Regions from separate parts of the Homo sapiens genome. Here region 2 is linked to region 1. Evidence: promoter capture Hi-C in human tissues and cell types (Jung and others, 2019). All regions are on one chromosome and are shown on one strand. Each heading gives the region's core, a stretch centred on a gene start or on the middle of the fragment in contact. The rest is flanking DNA. Distances are from core to core; before and after follow the strand shown. Region 1 holds the start of RNF216 (ring finger protein 216). Region 2 overlaps RAC1 (Rac family small GTPase 1).

Region 1 (7,685 bases), core at 3,527-6,026:
GGAGACTCTGTCCAAAAAAAAAAAAAAAAAAGAGAGAGAGAAAAAGAGAGAGAGAGAGAAAAAAAGAAAGAAAGAAAGAAAAAGAAAGTGAAAGAAAGGAAGAGAAAGAGCGAGTGAGCACAACAGCTTTCACTTAGGGCTCCTGGGCCCAGAGTCATCAGGTAAAAAGTCTGAATACCCTGCTGAGAGATCACACAGAAAGACCTGACACTACACGTGGAGGGAAAGAGCCAGTGGAGCCCGGCCTTCCAGCAGTCTTTGACAAGGCATGTGAACGAAGAAGACATTGTGGAAGCGGATGCTCCAGCACTGGCCACCTCTGCTGACAACATGTCGACCAGAGAAAAATGGCCCAGGTGAGCACTTCTCAATTCTCCTGATTCATAAAACTGTCAACAAACAAAATTATTCTATGAAGCAGTAAGTATTAGGGTGGTTTGTTATACATCAACAGATAACTGAAACAGAGCTCAGATTTTATTTTCTAGCCAATGGGAAGCAATGCAATGACAGCTGTGCTTTAGAAAAATCAACCTGGCTGCAATGTGTAAGATGGCATGTAGGAGACAACCGGTGCCAGGAAACAAGAGCCAACAGTACCTAGGGGGAGGAGAAGAATACAAGACACTGACTGCAGAGTTAGAGTCGATGGGATCTGTGTATGTCACTGGCCATCAGGGCAAGAAGAAAGGAATCAAAGTTGACCTAGACGCTGAGATCAGGTGACCACAGGATGGTGATGCTATTAAGGAAGAACAAAGCAGATGATGAGTTCAGAGAAAGAAAACGAAAATTGTGTTAACTTTAATATGTGGACAAAATATGGTAAAATAACATCCATCATTATGGATATAAATATGCAAACAATTAGTCTAGAGTTTAACAGCTCTAAGAATCCTATTATCTGTGTATTTTTACAATAGGAAAGGTTTTAAATCAAAAATTAAACTCAAAATCTTCAGTGGGCGGGCTAAACAATTTAACATAAAACATCAAGATTTTCTTCAACTGTCCAATGAAAATTAGTTTAGAAACTAGGACAGATAAGTAAGTACATCCTCATGTGTGGAGGGTAAAATCAACGTTTTCAACGATCTTTTTAGAACTGAATCTTCTGTGACCAAAGGACATGCTTCTGCTTCTAGCCCAAGTACTGCCTTGCAGGCTCCATCCCTTGACATGTTTTCATACGGCATTTGAGTTATTTCTTTTAAACCACAAATCTCACCATGGTGAAACCGAAATCCTTACCATGGCCTACAAAACGCTACCATCACCTGACCTTGCTGACATAGCGGGCCTTACCTCATACCTTTTCCCCCCGCATTCACCATTCAGTAGTAACAATGGTTCAGTTCCATGACTTGCTCCTTCCTTCCACTGCAGGCTCTTCCCCAGCTAAACTACTCTTCTTCACTGCCTCTTGGACCAAATTAACTCTATTCATTGTTCGGTTCTTTGCTTTCTCCTCAGAGAAAAATTGTTCCTGATTATCCCCTAGATGTTCCTCCCTGGTTCAATCACACAACGTACCTCATTTCTTCAAAGTACTTCCAACAATACTTTAATATACTTATTTAGGAAACTATGTGTAATTTTGGTCTCCTCTGCTAAAACTTAAGTTCCAAGAAGGCAGAACCAAAGTGTCACTTGATCCCAAAGCCCCAGGACATAGCATATCGGATGGCACAGTAGATGATCTTCAATAGTAGATGTACTTTCAGAATAAATAGCACTCACTAATTATAGAAGGATAATTAGTGGCATGAACTCTGGGTCCAAACTGAGTTCAAGTTCCACGCTGACCCTTACAAGTTTTGGGACTAGATATTTTTCAGCACCTCAGTTTCTTTTTTTAAAATTATTATTATTTTTGAGACGGAGTCTCGCTCTGTCACCCAGGCTGGAGTGCAGTGGCACAATCTCGGATCACTGCAACCTCCGCCTCCCGAGTTCATGTGATTCTCCTGCCTCAGCCTCCCCAGTAGCTGGGATTACAGGCGCACGCCATCACACCTGGCTAATTTTTGTATTTTTAGTAGAGACGGGGTTTCACCATGTTGGCCAGGCTGGTCTCGAACTCCTGACCTTAGGTGATCTGCCCGCCTCGGCCTCCCAAAGTGCTGGGATTACGGGCGTGAGCCACACCATTCCCAACTATGTTCTATTATCTTTAACAATAATGCAAATATAATGATATCAGGTATGAGAATGAATTATGTCTCTAAAGAGCTAGAATATAGCAATGCCTAGAATTTTGTAAACACATTAAATAGTAGCTGGTAGTAGAATCAGCAAATACCAGCTCTCTCAACTATCCTATTCATCAACTTTCGATCTGCCTCACTCACACCTAACCCTTCTTTATCAGATTTCTCCACAGGGGCTTCAGGAGTTCTCTTTTATTAGCTGCTGCTGCTCTAATCAGGGTAAAAATCTAAAGCCTCGAATGAGGTTTGCCAGGGGGTCCAAAATCTGGCCCAGACTCTCCAGGCATTTCCTCAAATCCACCACTACTCCCCACACCCCAGGCGCAATAAATTATGAAATACAAAACCAAGGCAAAGCCAGGCCATGTATTAGCCTTCTTCCTTAAAGCAAGCCGACTAAATTGAGATGTTTCATAGAATCTTCCCGCTTCTCTCCCTTCTCAGCGCGTAAAGAATGTTCTGGCAGAGCACGGTGGCTAAAGCCTGTAATTCTTGTGCTTTGGGAGGCTGAGGGTCACTTAAACCCAGGAGTTGGGCAGCACAGCTAGACTCCGTCTCTTAAAAAAAAAAAAAAAAAAAAAAGTTAGCCGAGCGTGGTGGTGCGCGCCTGTAATTCCAGCTACTCGGGAGGCTGAGGCAGGAGAATTACTTGAAGCTGGCAGGCGGAGGGTGCAGTGGGCAGAGATGGCACCACTGCACTTTAGCCTGGGAAATACAGCCAGACTCCGCCTCAAAAAAAAAAAAAAAATGCTCAATGAATGGGCTGGGGTGGGTGGGGCAGAGAGGAGCTGACGGGACATACTACATCTAAAACGCCACTGTTTCCGAGGGACGCGGATATGCTCTGGTCCCCCACCTACATCCCATTCAGTAAACAAAGGTACCCACCGAAACATACAGCAGCACAAACCCATTTTTATAAGACCCTGTGCCTGACTATTGCAGGAAGATGGAGGACAAACAACAGCTGGAGAATAGATGAGCTGATGTTTGGCTCCTAACCTCTAAAACAATGCCAACCCAGCCCCTTCCAGGAGTAACAGCTTGAAAACAATACATGGCATTTAGATAGTTTTTAGCATTCCTGGCAATTCCGTTACTAATTCATGGGTCTTCCTCACAAGGGAAGAAACCCCATTTTTGAGGCACAGGCCCACCAGGGCAAAATGACCTGGCCAGGCTGGAGCCAGGTGCATGTGAGGGCCACTGTGAGGCCCTCTGCTCTGCTCACCCTCTACGTCACAGTGCTTCTTCTGTAGGTGAACGTGTGGGTTTTCAGCCAGGGCGCTTCTTACTGAAGGGCCCGAGGGTCCCGGAGAACATATCTGAAACGTCTTTTGAAAAGACTGTAGCACTTTGGGAGGCCGAGGCGGAGGGATCACCTGAGGTCAGACGTTAGAGACCAGCCTGGCCAACACGGAGAAATCCCGTCTCTACTAAAAATACAAAAATTAGCTGGACGTGGTGGCAAATGCCTGTAATCCCAGCTGAGGCAATCCCTGTGAGGCTGAGGCAGGAAAATCGCTTGAATCCGGGAGGCAGAGCTTGCAGTGAGCCGGGATCGCGCCACTGCACTCCAGCCTGGGCAACAGAGCAAGACTCCGTCTCAAAGAAAAGGAGAAAAAAAAAAAAGTAAAAGAAAAAAGAACGTTCTCTTTGCACGATCTAAGTACCTAGGACAGCTGCTACCCAGGCCCTTAGGGATTTACAGAGCCCTGTCGGATTTGTCAGAAATTTCTGTAACCCGCACGCCGCGCACGCTCCAGGGTTGGTTGCAAGTGGCCCAGAGTCTTGGATCCCTGGTCCTGTTCCACCGGGAGCAGAACCACCTCGACGCGGGGACAGCGGCCTCGCTCGCTGCCCAGCGCCCGGACACCCGAGCCGGGCCAGCCCCCAGCGCCCCGCAGAAGGGTTTGACGCACTTGCGGCGCCCTCGCGAGTGCCGGGTGACAGTCGCCAACTTTCGCGGAACACGCGCTCCAGATGTGAGGGAAGAGGAGGAAAAACGCCGCCCGCCTGGGCTGGGGTTCACAGGCACGGCCCGCCTCCCGCCGCTCCTCCAGGCCGCGCTCGGGTGCACGGACACCGCCTCCGCGGCGGCCTCGGGCCCGGGGGAGGGAAGCGCGGTCTCCCGGGCTGTTGCCCTCGCGCAGCAGACCCGAGGGGCCGGCCCGCGAAACTTCGCGAAGTGGCGAGAGGGGGCCACCCGGCCGCTCAGCGCCTTTGTCGCTCCAGCCTCGCCACCGCACCGGGCTCGAGACGCCCAGCCCAGCCCCTTGGCCCGATCCCGCCCGGGCCTCGGCCCGCGCCCCTCAGCTCGGCGGCCCTCACGGCCCGCGCCCCCGCCCCCACCCCCGGAGCTCCACAGAGGCGCCCCTCAGAGAGGCCGCGTCGCCTCACAGACCCGCCCAGGAGCTCGAGCGCGCCCCGCAGCCGACACTCACTCGTCACTCAAGTCGCCGGCTAGCCAGGCAGGTTCGGCGGCCTTCGCTACCGCGCCGCTTACTCCTCAGAAGCCGCAGCTGCGAGCTCCGTGGCAGCCGCTGCACTCCTTCCGGCCCTGCCGCGGCGTCACCTCGCGCCTGCGCACAGCGCCCCCTCCCGACTAAGGACAGGAAGAACCATAGAGGCACTCCGGGTACTGCGGAGGAGGGACCGGGGGGCTCACCATAGAGAGGGCCGCCTAGTCGCGCCTGCATCCGGGCTCTCCGCCTGCGGAGACTTGACTCCCCCACGAGGCAGGAGGGTGAAAGGAAAGGAGACCCCCATATCCGACCCCACAAGGAGCCACCATCTCCCCAGAGCTGAAAAGGGTATGGGGCAGGTGGTTGTGGATGTTTACTCGATATCTACTGATTTGCCCTAATTCGTTTGGCAAGTCATTCATTCATTCTGCAAATATATTCTGCGGATTTCCTGTGGGCCACACACTGTTCTAGGAATTGGGGAAATTAAGAGTAAAGTGGGTCCCATGGCTGGGCACAGTGGCTCACGCCTGTAATCCCAGCACTTTGGGAGGCCAAGGCGGGTGGATCACTTGAGGTCAGACGTTGGAGACCAGCCTGGCCAACATGGTGAAACCCGTCTCTACCAAAAATAAAAAAATTAGCCAGGCATGGTGGCGGATGCCTGTAATCCCAGCTACTCAGGAGGCTGAGGCGGGAAAATCACTTGAACCTGGGAGGCGGAGGTTGTAGTGAGCCAACATGGCGCCCCTGCACTCCAGCCTGGGCAACAGAGCAACCCTCCATCTCGAAAAAAAAAAAAAGTAAAATGTGTTCCTGGCCTCAGGAAGTTTAGGTTTTAGTGAGCAAGTGAATAACTGACTAAAATACTGCTCCTGCTGGGCACAGTGGCTCATGTCCATAATCCCCGCGCTTTGGAAGGCCAAGGCAGGAGGATCGCTTGAGGCCAGGAGTTCAAGACCAGCCTTAGCAAAATAGCAAGACCCCAACTCTTAAAATAATTGCTGGCCAGGCGTGGTGGTTCACGCCTGTAATCCCAGCACATTGGGAGGCCGAGGCAGGCAGATCACTTGAGGTCAGGAGTTCGAGACCAGCCTGGCCACCATGGTGAAACCCCGTCTCTACTAAAAATACAAAAATTAGCTGGGCATGGTGGTGCGTGCCTGTAATCCGAGCTACTCGGGAGGCCGAGGCACAAGAATTGCTTGAACCGAGGAGGGGGAGGTTGTAGTGCAGTGATTATGCCACTGCACTTCAGCCTGGGTAACAGAGTGAGACTGTGTCTCAAAAAAAAAAAAATTGCCAAGTACACCTTCAAGTAGAGATATCAAGTCAGTAATTAGATAAATGAGTCTGGGCTGGGCATAGTGGCTTATACCTGGAATCCGAACATTTTGGGAAATGGAGGTGGGAGGATGGCTTGAAGCCAGGAGTTTGAGACGATCCTGGGCAATAGAGTAAGACCCCATCTTTACAAAAATAAAAATTAGCCGGGCATGGTGGTGCGCACCTATAGTCCCAGCTACTCAGGAGACTGAGGTGGGAGGATTTTTTTGTTTTGTTTTGTTTTGTTTGTTTTGTTTTTTTGGACAGAATCTCACTCTGTCAGCCAGGCTGGAGTGCGGTGGCACGATCTTGGCTCACTGCAACCTCCACCTTCTGGGCTCAAGCGATTCTCCTGCCTCAGCCTCCTGAGTAGCTGGGATTACAAGCATGTGCCACCACGCCCGGCTAATTTTCGTATTTTCAGTAGAGACAGGGTTTCACCATGTTGGCCAGGCTGGTCTTGAACTCCTGACCTCAGGTAATCTACCCACCTCGGCCTACCAAAGTGCTGGAATTACAGGAGCGAGCCACTAAACCCGGCCAGAGGATTGTTTGAGCCCAGGAGTCCGAGGCTGCTGTGAGCTATGATTGCACTGCTGCACTCCAGCCTGGATGACAGAACAACAGCCTGTCTCAAAAGAAGCAAACAAAAACAAAACAGGGAAATGAGAGGAACAATAGTCTTGATGCGGCAATGAGTGTTCCTTCTCTAAGACAGTAGAGTGTGGCTTATGGGGGCTTGCATGGGACAGAAAAAGACCACTACTCATAGTGCTTTGGGGAACAGTGTCCTGAGGGAATAGTCATGTTTCAGTGAAGTAGAAATTGAAGGGCTGCTTACAGAACAGGACGAGGATCTAGGGATCTTACAGATGTCAGGCCCTGAGTTAGAGGGTGCAGTGCATGGGAGACATTAGAGGGTGAACAGGAGAGAGAGTTTAAGATAGATACTTACCTGAGATGAGATCCTGGAATCACCTGGAAGGTAAAACAAAGGCATTGGCCTTGATGAGCTTATCCTCCATGCTGGTCCTCTTGGGGGAGGTGGATAATCGCTGTCAGTTACAGCCTTCTTCTTAGGATGGTCCTCATAAGCCCTTTGAGATGTTGGAAGAAAGCAGTATTGGAAGGAGAGCTTGGTGATCTTAGCAGGAGTGCAAGGTTCTTTCCGGACCACTGAACCCCTCTGTGGTTGGTGTCACACCCAAGGCAGGTGCGATCGAGTAACCTCTCTGAGTCTAGCTTTTTTTTTTTTTTTTTTTGAGATGAAGTCTTGCTGTGCCACCCAGTCTGGAGTGCGGTGGCGCGATCTTGGTTCACTGCAAGCTCCGCCTCCTGGGCTCACGCCGTTCTCCTGCCTCAGCCTCCCGAGTAGCTGGGACTACAGGCGCCCGCCACCAAGGGCTAATTTTTTTTTGTATTTTTAGTAGAGATGGGGTTTCGCCGTGTTAGCCAGGATGGTCTCGATCTCCTGACCTCGTGATCCACCCGCCTTGGCCTCCCAAAGTGCTGGAATTACAGGCATGAGCCACCGCACCTGGCCTGAGTCTGGAATTTTTTATTTGTTCAGGCTTTTTGGAGACTCTGACTCAGACGTGATGGCAATGAGAAGAGAGACTTTATTTTTGTCTTTATTTATTTATTTTTGAGACGGTGTCTCCTTCCATCGCCCAGGCTGGAGTGC
Region 2 (7,685 bases), core at 2,244-4,743, 600 kb after region 1:
CAGGTATTTATAAACAACTTTTATTATTTATTTGTTTTTATTTTATATTGGCTCACTGCAGCCTCCACCTCCTGGGTTCAAGTGATTCTCCTGCGTCAGCCTCCCAAGTAGCTGGAACTACACGTGCCTGCTACCATGCCGAGGTAATTTTTTTTTTTTTTTTTTTTTTGAGAAGGAGTTTTCGCCCTTTTTGCAAAGGTTGGAGTGCAGTGGTGCGATCTCGGCTCACTGCAACCTCCTCCTCCTGGGTTCAAGCGATTCTCCTGCCTCAGCTTGTCGAGTAGGTGGGATTACAGTCACGCTCCACCACACTGACTAATTTCGTATTTTTAATAGAGACGAGGTTTCTCCTTGTTAGCCAGGTTGGTCTCAAACGCCTGACCTCAGGTTATCCACCTGCCTTAGCCTCTCAAAAAGTACTGGGATTACAGGCATGAGCCACTACGCCTGGCAATTTTTTGTATTTTTAATAGAGACAGGGTTTCACCATGTTGACCAGGTTGGTTTCGAACTCCTGACCTTAGGCGATCTGCCCGCCTTGGCCTCCCAAAGTGCTGGGATTATGGGCGTGAGCCATCGTCCCTGGCCTAAACAACAGTTTTATTATTTTATTTTTTATTTTTTTATTGCTTATTACTATTTTTTGAGATGGAGTCTCGCTCTGTCACCCAGGCCGGGGTGCAGTGGCATGATATGGGCTCATGGCAACCTCTGCCTCCTGGGTTCAAGCAGTTCTCCTGCTTTGGCCTCCCAAAGTGATGGAATTACAGGCCCGAGCCACTGCGCCCGGCCACAACTATTTTAATAGTGTTGTTTTGGTGTTGGTTGATTAAAGGAATGGGAACGAATGACTTGAAGCCCTCTCTGTTTCACTCTTTATACAAAGTGGAGTCCAGATTGGGCTAGTGGCCTGTCTAGCCCAATGTCTGACTTGGACATACATTACTGTCCAGGAGTTTCTTAGCTGAATGTGAAAAATGCCTTCCGTGACATCATCCTTACAGGAACATTCTTTACATTTATTCTTTACTTCTGTTGAACGGTGGTGGCGTGAACCATGAATTTGTTTAAGCTTTTCAGCTGTTTTGTGTGTTTTCCTCTCAAGGCATGGGGTTTCATATTTTTGACCTGTGGTAAAGGTATTTGAATTCTGCACTGGCCTCCAAATGTAGGTGTAGTATATGGCTCTGATCTTTGTTGATGATTTTATACATAATGTGGTTTTTTTTCTTGATAAGCCAAAAAAATTATACATAATGTGTGTGTGTGTGTGTGTTTTAATTTCAAATGATAGTTACAGTAAAAGTTTGGAGTTGGGCTAAGTGGGAGGAGCATCAGGAAGCCATTTTTAGAAACCTTAAATTCACCCTTTATAACTTTCTGTCTTTTTGCATTAGTCATCTGATACCTTAGTACTGCCTACTTTTTCACATCTCCATCACTACGTAGCTCTTAAAATTGTAGTCTTCCTTGAAAGGAGATGTTTTTGTCAAGAGTCTTTGCCACCAAGGCAGGATTGCATGTGATCAGTAGGAATATTTTCCTGCAATGTCTTAATATGAAAAATTTCAAACAGACTAGTGGAAAGCATTGTACAGTCAACATGCACATACCCATGGCCTGGATTCTATGACAGTATTTTGCTCTACTTGTTCATTTTGCTGTATTTGCTTTATCATGTCTTCCTGTTATCAGAGGGAACCTTTTAAGAGGATTTATAGAGGAGTTGATTTTGTTTTTTGTTTTGTTTTGTTTTGCTCTTTTTGAGGTGGAGTCTTGCTCTGTTGCCCAGGCTGGAGTGCAATGGCATGATCTCTGCTCACTGCAATCTCCGCATCCCAGGTTCAGGCGATTCTCCTGCCTCAGCCTCCTGAGTAGCTGGGCTTACAGGCACCCACCACCATGCCTGGCTAATTTTTGTATTCTTAGTTGAGACAGGTTTCACCATCTTGGCCAGGCTGGTCTGGAACTCCTGACCTCAGGTGATCCACCTGCCTCGGCCTCCCAAAGTGATGGGATTACAGGCGTCAGCCACCATGCCCGGCCTGATTTTGAAAAAGAATAGGGACTGTGTGCAGTTACATATAAATTCTTATTTTTGAACTCTTGTGTGTTCAGCTGGCTTGTATCAACTACACCAGGGTTAGCCTTGATTCTGGAAGGGTGGATTCAGACTTCAGCTCAGTTGTACATAGTGTCTTCAGCCTAAGTGAGAAACTTTATGCACTATCTTAATTTTTTGAAGCTTCTAGTGGTAATAATTGCTGGCTTTTTTTTTTTTTTTTTGGTAGAAACAGAGTCTTGCTCTGTCGCCAGGCTGGAGTGCAGTGGCACGAAATCAGCTCACTGCAACCTCTGCCTCCCAGGTTCAAGCAATTCTCCTGCCTCAGCCTCCTGAGTAGCTGAGATTACAGGCGTGTGCCACCACACCCAGCTAATTTCTTTTGTATTTTAGTAGAGACGGGGTTTCACTGTGCTGCCCAGGCTGGTCTTGAACTCCTAAGGTCAGACAGTCCGCCCACCTTGCCCTCCTAAAGTGCTAGGATTACAGGCATGAGCCACCGTGCCTGGCTTATGGCTAGCTTTCTTTACATTGATTGTGAAGTCAGATATTGGTAGTAGAACATCATAATTTTAGATTGGGTTTTGTGTTTATTTAGCACTGCACTACTCTAGTGGTGTATTTTTCTGGACAGATTTTATCTGCATAGTTAACGCAGTTATATATAAGGCCTACCGTTACAGAATCCCCATACCTTGTTTGTCAGTGTAAATCGAGGACCTTCATGCGAGGTCTTTAATTTATTCAATAAGTAGGAATATATATTTGACAGTTACTAAATTCTACTGCCTTGTCCTTAAGATCTACATACTTTTTTTTGTTTTTTGAGTCAGAGAGTCTCGCTCTGTTGCTCAGGCTGGAGTGCAGTGATGCGATCTCAGCTCACTGCAACCTCTACCCCGTGGCCTCAAGCGATACTTCTGCCTCAGCCTCCTGAGTAGCTGGGATTACAGGCGCCTGCCACCACACTCAGCTAATTTTTTGTATTTTTAATAGAGATGCAGTTTCGCTGTGTTGGTCAGTCTGGTCTCGAACTCCTGGCCTGAAGTGATCCACCCGCCTTGGCCTCTTGCTGGGATTACAGGGAAGAGCCACTGCGCCTGGCCAAGATCTACTCACTTTTAGACAGCAATATATGCTCTGTATTTTGGTTTGCAATTGTAATTGTCATTGGAAGAGTTTGGCTTTTCTGTCCTGAGATCAACGTGTCTTTAAAAGAAGGCAGTGCAGAAAGTTGTTATTTTTTGAGCTTCTTGGATCTTTTATTTTTTTAACGTGAGGAAATTCCTAGCGTTTCTAGATTTGTTGATTGTGCTTTTAAGTTTTGGTTTATAGATTTCAGGAAGTAACACTAAAGTTTACCCTACTCTCCTCAAAAAGTAAGTAAAAAGTTCTCTTGGCTGGGCGTGGTGGCTCACGCCTGTAACCCCAGCACTTTGGGAGGCCGATGGGGTGGATCTCCTGAGGTCAGGAATTCGAGACCAGTCTGGCCAACATGGCAAAACCCTGTCTCTACTGAAAATACAACAACAAAAAAAAATTAGCTGGATGTGGTGGTGCTTACGTGTAGTCCCAGCTACTTGGGAGGCTGAGGCAGGAGAATTGTTCGAACCCAGCAGGCAGAGGTTGTGGTAAGCCAGGATTGCACCATTGGGCTCCAGCCTGGAAGACAGAGCCAAGACTCCGTCTTAAAGTTCTCTTAATGGAAAAATGAAGAACATAATAGCAACATAAGTTATTTGCTTTCATTGTGGTTATTTCTACAGGACAGGGCAGGGGAAGCACAGATAGGTTAAAAAAAATTGTAGCATCATGAGCTAGGGGGAAATCCAATGTAGAAATGGCATGAACTTTCTTCCAGCCGACTCATGTTCGTTTCCTAGAGTGATGACATTGCTCGATGATTGAAAAGAGGTTGAACTGAGCAGTTAATTATATAAAGTTAGAAATTCCAAAGAAGTAGTAACTACCAGAAATTCTCCAGCAGTATCAGTCAAGACTTGTGGCCAAATACGGCTTCCATTCTTCATGAGGGAAAGGCCATGGAAAGGCTGTCACATTGCCCAGTGCAGATGTTGACTTGGTTTGTGGAAGCGCAGCGTGGACAAGGAATGAATATACACTAATAGGAGTGGAATAACCTTTTTCTTTTACCTATTTGAATAAATTAAGTAAAAGTTTTAATCAGAAGACTTAAAGAGGAGTCGATTTTATCTTTTGATTGCACTAAGCTTAAATATAAGGTTGCACTTTAAGAATTCTGTAGTTTAATAATCATATTCTTATAAGACATAGATTTGTAACAAATAGTGATTGGTAATAAAATTTCAGTCAGTATCAGATTATGCCAGTACCTTGAATTTCTTCCCGGTTGAGCCTTTCTCAGCTAAAGATGTCATTCAGGAAAGGAAGTTTAGAGGATTTTAGACACAGCTGGTTGCCTTTATATTAGTAGTTTTGTTCCTCATATACATAGAGACTTAGGACAGAATAGTAAAAGAAGTGATAATGACATTTTATCATAACAGTCAAAACCTTCATAGCAGCTTATCCTTGACACTGAGTGGCAACTATTGTTAAGGTTTTTACACAACCTTTATCTTTTTTTTTTTTTTTTTTTTTTTTTTTTTTTTTTTGAGACGGAGTTTTGCTCTTGTTGCCCAGGCTGGAGTGCAATGGCGCAATCTCGGCTCACTGCAACTTCCGCCTCCCGGGTTCAAGCGACTCTCCTGCTTCAGCCTCCCGAGTAGCTGGGATTACAGGCATGCACGCCCGGCTAATTTTGTATTTTTAGTAGAGAGGGGTTTCTCCATGTTGGTCAGGCTCTTCTCGAATTCCTGACCTCAGGTGATCCGCCCGCCTTGGCCTCCCAAAGTGCTGGGATTACATGTGTGAGCCACCGAGCCCAGCCAACCTTTATCATTTTTAAAAAGGTCCCTTAGAGCCTTAGGCTCCACTTTCTTCCTCAGCTGCCACATCCAAACCATGGGTAAGCGATGCTTGATCTGCCTCCAAGTTCAAGCAGTCCAGGAAACAGCCCACTTATGTTCACTGTCCAGTCCCCATTCTTGGTCCAGGCCACCATGGATGGCTCCTGGACTGTAGCAACAGCTTCCATGTGTGTCTGCCTTGACTGAGTCCCTGGCGTCCTCAGGCTTCCTGCCACACTGCAGTTGGAGGCTTCTTCTAAAATCCAGTGCTTTCTGGGCAATTTAAAACCTGTGACTTTCCAAGTAGGATCTAGTCCCCATGTCCTTAACAAGAAGAGGTAACGTATTTCCCTATGCCACTGCCCACTTATTTTTTTATTGTTGAGATGGGATCGTGCTTTGTCACCTAGGCTGGGTGGAGTGGTGTGATCACAGCTCACTGCTGCCCTGAATTCCTGGGCTGAAGGGATCCTCTTGCTTCAGCCTCCTGAGTAGCTGGGACTACAGGCAAGAGCCACCACTTATTTTTGAATTTTTTGTGGAAACAAGGTCTCCCTATGTTGCCCAGGCTGGTCTTGAACTCCTGGGCTCAGCGATCCTCCCACCTCAGGCCCCTGTGCTGGGATTATAGCCTCCTGTGCTGGGATTACAGGCCTAAGCCACTGCACCAGGCTTTTATTTTTTAATTTAAAAAAATTTATTTTTTTGAGACAGGGTCTCACTTTGTCCCTCAGACTGGATGCACTGGTGCAATCTTGTTTCACTGCAGCCTTGACCTCCCTCCTGGGTTCAAGTGATCCTCGTGCCTCAGCCCCCCAAGTAGCTGAGACTACTGCTGCACACCGCCACACCCACCTAATTTTTGTATTTTTAGTAGAGAACGGGTTTCTCCATGTTGGCCCAGCTGGTCTTGAACTCCTGGGCTCAAGCGATCCACCCACCTCAGCCTCCCAAAGTGCTAGGATTACAGGCATGAGCCACCATGCCTGGCCTAAAAATATTTTTTTCAGCTCTAGAAATGTTAGCTCTTTTGCTGTACATTTCCAGAGCTGCTTTAATAATGACAGTTATCACACGCATAATTTCATGTGATGATTGCATTCTTAATTTTTAAATTTAACAACTGCACTTACTTCATGAGGTCTTGTTCATTGATACATCTTTAGCACCTAGTGTGCTTCTGGTGTAGCACACGGTTGATATAAATTGAAATTGAATTAATGCTCACAGTAGTTTGGGGATGGAGCTGGTAGTTCTGCATTAATTTTGCAGGTGAAAAAAAAAGGCATGAGGAAGTTGAAACTTGCCAAAAAATACAGCCAGTACGTGCTAGAATTGGCCCTGGGTCTCAAATCTGGGCTTCTGACTCCAAAGCTTAGGCTCCTGCTCATACAGGTTTATTTTCACATTCTAAGCTTTTAACGAAATGTATGTCCAATGAGTCATTTCTGTTTAGAAAGCCTTTAGGAGTTGGAAGCTACTTCCTGGTGATGTAATGTTTGACTCTCTAAAGTCTTTGGAATGGGGAGTTCCAACTTTTGTTAAGCCCTCAATAATGTCATGAGTGAATGAATATTGGCAAGACTGGCTGGGCCTGTAATCTGCCTTGAGTGTGAGGGAAAATGGAAAAGCGCTTAACTTTATGGTGAATTCTAATTTATAGTAGTTGAGATTGAACGACAAAAATCTTAAAATTATGATGCTGATGTGTCATTGTGACCTTGGTAAACTGACAGCACAGCAGAGAGAAGGGCTCATTAAGGAGAGCACTTGGCTAACTGAACCCTCAGGATGCCAGAGACTTGAATTCTCATGTAAGCCCTTAAGCTTGCCTTGTCAATGCTGTAAAAATTGGAGACCTTTATGTTTTGCTAATGATGTGGTGACCTTAGTTATTAGGTGATAGCCTCTTGAAAAACATTCCAGGTGGTTGGGAGACTTTCAGCCACCACTCTTCTGCCTGGCGGCACACTGGTAATATTAGGATTAGTCTCTACCCATTGCCAGTTGTGCAGGTGGTGCTCCTTTCTCTGAAGTATTTCTACACACTTCTCTGTTTGGCAAGTTTAACTCCCATCGTCTCTGAGCTGTTAATTAAATGTCTGGGATGTATTGTGATAGTCCCTGCTTATAGACTTATGGTGCTGTGTGAGGATTGGGGCTGGGGGAGGTGGCATTTAAATACAGCTGAATCAATGTGATGGCAGTTACGTGTGGTAGTTTATTGACTAAGCACTTTCTCTCAAGAGAACAGTCATTGCTGATTGCCATAGGGGAGGCTGTAGGGATGTGGTGGGATTTTGAGCTGTCCCACTTAAGGCAGCAGAATAAGTTACTTAAAGAGGAAGGCTGTGTTTGTATATTAGTGTTAATTAAAATACCTTTAGGCTGGGTGTGGTGGCTCCAGCCTGTAATCCCAGCACTTTGGGAGGTCCAGGTGGGCGGATCACTTGAGGTCAGGAGTTCGAGACCAGCCTGGCCAACATGGCGAAAACCCATCTCTACTAAAAATACAAAAAAATTATCCAGGCGTGGTGGTGGACAGCTGTAATCCCAGCTACTTGGGAGGCTGAGGCAGGAGAATCGCTTGAACCTGGGAGGCAGAGGTTGCAGTGAGCCAAGATGGTGCCTCTGCACTGCACTCCAGCTGGGGCGACAGCACGAGACTCGGTCTCAAAAAAAAAAAAAAAAGA

The links. Contacts are between HindIII fragments. The study calls those that stand out against the background at their distance.
Region 2: a contact is called between a fragment that was not itself captured here and the fragment with the promoter of RNF216 in region 1, in 1 of the 25 tissues and cell types used here (aorta).

Annotation. Positions count from the first base shown.
Region 1 is chr7:5,776,887-5,784,571 of GRCh38, forward strand. RNF216 (ring finger protein 216) reads right to left here and starts at 4,777. Exons shown (of 17, transcript NM_207111.4): 1 at 4,655-4,777. RefSeq lists a silencer at 4,186-4,575. The HindIII fragment of the contact is 32,599 bases long and covers 1-7,685 here.
Region 2 is chr7:6,379,122-6,386,806 of GRCh38, forward strand. All of the region lies in intron 1 of RAC1 (Rac family small GTPase 1), which reads left to right. Among named protein-coding and RNA genes, the nearest start is that of RAC1, 8.4 kb to the left of the region's middle. The HindIII fragment of the contact is 3,671 bases long and covers 1,659-5,329 here.